2 separate regions of the Homo sapiens genome follow, and region 1 is linked to region 2. Evidence: promoter capture Hi-C in 16 types of primary human blood cells and fetal thymus (Javierre and others, 2016). All regions are on one chromosome and are shown on one strand. The core of a region is centred on a gene start or on the middle of the fragment in contact, and the rest is flanking DNA. Distances in the headings are between cores, read along the strand shown. Region 1 holds the start of CIMIP3 (ciliary microtubule inner protein 3). Region 2 holds the start of FRS3 (fibroblast growth factor receptor substrate 3).

What was found. Contacts are between HindIII fragments. The CHiCAGO score rates a contact against its expected background, and 5 or more counts as called.
Region 1: a contact is called between the fragment with the promoter of CIMIP3 here and the fragment with the promoter of FRS3 in region 2, in 6 of 17 cell types (naive CD4 T cells, total CD8 T cells, naive CD8 T cells and 3 more). The highest score is 8.8, in naive CD4 T cells.

Annotation. Positions count from the first base shown.
Region 1 is chr6:42,154,027-42,156,726 of GRCh38, reverse strand. CIMIP3 (ciliary microtubule inner protein 3) reads right to left here and starts at 1,321. Exons shown (of 2, transcript NM_001384994.1): 1 at 1,242-1,321. The coding sequence starts at 1,250. GUCA1ANB-GUCA1A (GUCA1ANB-GUCA1A readthrough) reads right to left here and starts at 1,321. Exons shown (of 5, transcript NM_001319062.2): 1 at 1,134-1,321. The HindIII fragment of the contact is 11,083 bases long and covers 1-2,700 here.
Region 2 is chr6:41,778,555-41,781,254 of GRCh38, reverse strand. It overlaps FRS3 (fibroblast growth factor receptor substrate 3), which reads left to right and starts at 1,355. Exons shown (of 7, transcript NM_006653.5): 1 at 1,355-1,439. PRICKLE4 (prickle planar cell polarity protein 4) reads right to left here and starts at 473. Exons shown (of 8, transcript NM_013397.6): 1 at 429-473. RefSeq lists silencers at 690-759, 1,040-1,449, 1,480-1,629. The HindIII fragment of the contact is 6,259 bases long and covers 1-2,467 here.

The DNA.
Region 1 (2,700 bases), core at 72-2,571, 380 kb before region 2:
AGGCTATCTAATTCACCAGCTTGTGGTGGGGTGCCATGAGTGCTGGGAACGGTAAAGGCACAGTGCAAATAGTCATTACTCTCAGCCTCTCGGGCAGTTACACCGTGGTTTCACACACATACCTGTCTGAACCTATAGGAGAGCACGTTTCCCTTTGGGGGAGCACAGGGGCTTTGAAGGGAGTGGTTAGGGAAGCCGGGGGTAGGCCTCAGCTTCCTCATGTGACTGGGTAGCATGAGAGCCTGGAGCCAGCTACCCCAGTTCAAATTCCAGTTCCCTGCAGGGCCCGGTGGCTCACACCTGTAATTCAGCGGGAGGTTGAAGTGGGAGGATTGCTTGAGCTCAAAAGTTCAAGACCAGCCTGGGCAACATTGAGAGACCTCATCTCTATTTTATAAAAAAGTAAAAAAAAAAAAAAAAGAAAAAAAAATGGCTGAGCACAGTGGCTCACGCCTGTAATCCCAGCACTTTGGGAGGCCGAGGCAGGAGAATCACTTGAGGTCAGGAGTTCGGGACCAGCCTGGTCAACATGGTGAAACCCCGTCTCTACTAAAAATACAAAAAAATTAGCCGGGCGTGGTGGCAGGTGCCTGTAATCCCAGCCACTTGGGAGGCTGAGGTGGGGGAATCATTTGAACACAGGAGGCGGAGGTTGCACTTAGCTGAGATTGTGCCACTGCACTCCAGCCTGGGCAACAAAGCGAGTCTCAAAAAAAAAATAAATAGAATTCCAGCCCTCTCACTCACTAGCTGCCTGATCCTTAGGCAAATTATAATCTCTGTACCTCAATTTTCCGAAGTATAATGTGGGAATAACAAGAGCTCTACCTCATAGGGTTCATGTGAGGACTTAATGAGCTAGTCCATGTAAGGTGCCTAGACCTCTTAAGCACTCAAACTTTAGCTACAATTATTATTTATCTCAAGTTTGCCTTGGAGATGGTGTAACACGAACCAAACAGTCCAGGACACACTTTACAGCAGTGAAGGGGCAGAGGAAGCAAGATGGAGGGTGTCCTGTTCCCTCTCTCCATCTCCCCAGAGAGATCGCAGAGGTCCGACAGCTGGGGAGTACAAGGCAGGCAGCAGCACCAGCACCAGCACCCAACTAAGCCTTTTGTAAGAGGACCTACCTCCCAGCCGCACATGTGAGGCTGGCTGGGGCTTTCATGCTCTTTCCTGCCCATCAGGCTTCTTGTGACCCCGAGCTGACCTTCCCCAGCCCTGTGATTTCATCACACCTTGCACATCCTGGACCAGGGCCTTTCTTGATGGTGAGGTGGAACTTCTGGTGGTCAGGGAGGACTCTTGGCAGGATACTGAGAGTGCCAAGGTGGGGAGAACTTGTATGGGGCAGGGGGCATTGTGACACCTCTTTACAACACAATTCCTTCTGTCTTCCCAAGGAGACATGAGGCCAGGGCTGGGGACTGACGTTTCAGGACCTGGAAGGGTCTTTTAACCTTGACACTGGCCCACTATGCTATTCCCTCTTCCCACAAACCCATAGAACCCTAAAACTGTGGGCAGGAGGTGAATGGAGAGAGATCATCCTAATTATCAAGGTGCCTCCAGAAGTCCTAATATCCCCCCATGTCCCAATATCACTGTCAGGAAGGAAATGTACCTTGGCAACTCTTCATTCTATCTATCTATCTAATCTATCTATTTATTTATCTATCTATTTATCTATCTATCTATCATCTATCATCTACCACCTGTCAATCATCTATTTATCATCTATCTATCATCTATCTGCCTTCCAAATTACAGAGATGAGTGGATGAATGGATGGGTGGACATGAGTGGGAGGGTGGATGGACAGGTGGATGGACTGGGTTGGCAGATAGATGGTGGATGGGCCAACCCTTGTGATTTGAGCCCTGCTCATCTCCTTAGCCTCATCTCTTGCTATCTTTCCCTTGCTCTCTATGGAGTAGCTAGTTTCTTAGACATGCCCCACTCTCTCCCCTCTGAGCCTCTACATATGCCATTCCTTCTCATGGATTGCTTTGAACAGAGGGTTGGGAGATAAAGGGATGGATGAACAGGTGGATAGACAGATGGCTGAATAGGAGTGACCATGTGTGAGTGGATGGATGGATGGTCAGTAAATGGACAGATGGTGATGGCTGTGGTATAGAGGATTGCAGGTCTGGGAGTTAGAATGCCTGAGCTTGAATTCTGGCTGTACTACTTTACTAGTGTGTAACTTTGGGAAAATTAATTGACATCTCTATGCTTCTGTTTTCTCATCTGTAAAATGGGTAAAGTCCCTACCTAATAGAGTTGGGCAAAGCACTTAGGACAGTGCCTGGTACAGAGTAAGCATTGAGTAAACATCAGCTATGACTATGTGTGGGTGGGTAATTGGATTGATGGGTGGGTGGTTGAATGGGCTGTCCTGTCCCCATCTTCAAAAATCAGCTCCCCTACCTCCCTAGGGTCCTGTCTCCCCAATACCACACTTGGTAGGCAGCTTCCAGGAGTAATGTCAGAAATCCCACATGTAGGAATGACATGGGCTTCTCCCTTGGTTGAGGGGAAGGAGAGAGTTCCAGCGGGAGGTAGATAGAGCTATTGGGTGCCTTCCTGCCACACCAGCTTGGGCTGGGCCCGGAATTATTTGTTTTCTTCCTGGCCCTGAGTCAACGCTGACAAGATGCACTTTGGGGCCGAAGGCAGACTGGAAATTGGGGT
Region 2 (2,700 bases), core at 106-2,605:
ACCTCCACCTAGCACTGGAACACCCTTACTAACAGGCCAGCTGGATTCCTTCCATAATTCCCTTCCCCCTCCCACCTCAGATAAGGGACAGAGCTGAACCCCTTGTCTTGCCTCCGTGCAGAGCCTCCGTGCAAGAGGGCTCAGGAGCTGGACATCCCCAACACCCGCTGCCCTGAAGGGCAGAGCCCGAGAGGACTTAGGGCTTGGGGAGGTGGAGGGATGGGAAGATTTCTGGGGACAGTGGGAGGGAGAAGGAAGGGGAGTGCCCAGTCCCGCCAACTGCCCTCTCGATAGATCCCCAGAGTTTTTCTGGAACTTGGCGGGCCCGCCTCCGGGGCTGGGACGCGGTGTTTCCCGAGTCCGCTGGGGTTCCCGGTCTGGCTGCTGGGATTTTAGGGGAGGGGACCAGGACTCCGCTGGGGTCTCACCCTCGCTGTGCGTCGCTGTCCGGGCAGTTCTGGACCGACTCTGCCGTCAGGCCCCTCACCCGGTCCCCACCCCAAGGCTTCAGCGCCCGCCCCCGTCCGCCCCCGCCCGCCCTAATAGCGCGGCCCTTCCTCTCCCACGCCCCAGCGGCCCCCGCCCGCCCCTCCCCGGCTGGTGGAGAGGGGCGGCTCAGGGAGGGGCCTGGAGCTGCAGATTGGGGGGAGGAAAAAAAAAAGGAAAACAAAACCACATTTATGGGATCTCAGGGTGGAAATGTGCGGGCTCCATGGCCTCTGCCATGCAGGTGCAAGGGCTCTCTGGCTCGGACTGCGCCCGGCAGGCATCCAGCAGACGCCGGGAGCCGCGTTTACGCTGGGTTTTCAACCATTCGCTGAATGGAAACGCCTCGCCGGGCCCGCAGCCCTGTCTCTCCGCAGTTCCCAGGTCTCCCCAAACTCTCCCTGTGGTCTCCCAGCCCCGCTCCTCCGCGTGTTTCCCTTCAGTTCTCTCCCCCTTGTCCCCAGTGGTCCCCCTGGCCCCTTCCCCTCCCCTCAACCCTCTTCCAGGTTCCATCGTCTTGCCCTTCTCCTTTCAGGTCCCTTCAGACCCTCTCCCCTTCCCTTCGTTTCTCGCCCAACCCTCCGTCCCCTTTCCGCTCCCCGGACCACCCCCAACTTTGGTGTCCTCAGCCCCGCCTCCGCGCCCCGCCTCCGCCGCAGGCTCCGCCCTGTCCCCTCCGGGCTTGCTCAGCCCCTGGCCAGGAGCGCCCTCTGGCGTCTGCGCATGCTCACTGCTCCCGACTGCAAAGTCCTCCAAAGGGACCTTCTAGGCTGCGTGCCGGTCGCCCCCGCTCGGGTCCGCCAGCCCGCAGCGTCTCGTTGGTGCTGCCGGTGACCTCCGACCCCGCGGCCGCGGGGCGGGGCGGGGCGGGGAGGCCTTAGCTCCGGGCGGGCGGCGGCTGCTGCAGCGGGACCCGGGAGCGGGGCCCGGCGCCGCCCGGGCCGCGGGGCGATGTGAGTCGGGGCGCGGCGGGGCGGGGACGAGGCGGCTTCACCGAGGCCGCGCCGCGCCGCGCCGCGCCGCGCCGCAGTCTCCACTCCCTCCCTAGGAAGCCCCGGGCGGGCGGGCAGGCGGCGGAGCACCGGGGCTGGGGGCGGGGATCCGGGGACAGCGCGCACCCAGACCTCCTCATTCCTTACGGGCATGTAGAAATTCCCCTTGACAGTCCTGTAGCCTGTCCTGCAGCCTCTGGCTCCCCCAACCCACCTCTACCCTCTCCGCCCTGGACACATCATCGCATCTCCTGGAGCCCTCAGAACCCCCTCATTCACTCAACAAATCTCCTGCTATGCCCACGGACCCACCATTTCTCTTGGATGCCCCCAAATGCTTCCACTGCCCGGAAATTCCTAGGATCCCTCATATCCCCATTCTCCTTGCACTATCCAAAATGCCCACATCCAAAATTCTTGCTCATGTTTCCCCAAACGTCCTCATACGTTTTCAGCCCCCACACCCCCCTCTCACTCCTGCCCCTGATCCATACCTATCCCAGACCAGAGGCCTCTCCCCATTTCCACTCAATGCAGTCCCTCCTCAGTGGGCTATCTGATACATCCTGATATCTTAAGGAGAAGAGATGGTGATAGGGAAATTCAGCCCCTCCCCCATCTTGCACCCTAGAGTTCTTCGTTTCAGTGCCCGCGCCGTGCCCCCGTCGGTGGCTCAAGCCCCAGTATTTTCCCAGCAACCTATCTTTAGTCTGTGCACACCTCCCTGAGCCTGCTTCTTCCTTCCAGAAAATAAGCCAGACCAAGGGGATGGGGTCCTTTTACCTGGAAGTTGTCCAAGGATGCAGGGTGCAAGGGGCCCTGGGAAGTGTTTCTCCAGAGCAGGAATGTGGGATGTCCAGGGTCTGCAGAGTCCTGGCTTGTTGACTTGTCTACCTTGGGCTCAGATATCCTGAAATTTTGGCTTACTGTTAACATTTATGTTAAAATTAGGCCTTTCAGAGCTTGGGGAGCAGAAAATCTATCAAGCTTCCAAATGCGAAATTGAAGCAGCCTGTCTTGGAAGATGAACATGTCAATTTTAGTGAAGTTTGTCTTACGTTTTTACCTCTGCAAGTTATTTAAGCTAGAAGCTCCCCAGTTTATAGATGGTTCCCCCAAAAACTAAGGCCTTAGGTGGGAGTTGGGGGGGGCGTTGACTTAAGTCTCCCAGATACTTAGTAGCAACAAAACTGACCGATATATTGGTTTCCTGAGTCTTAAA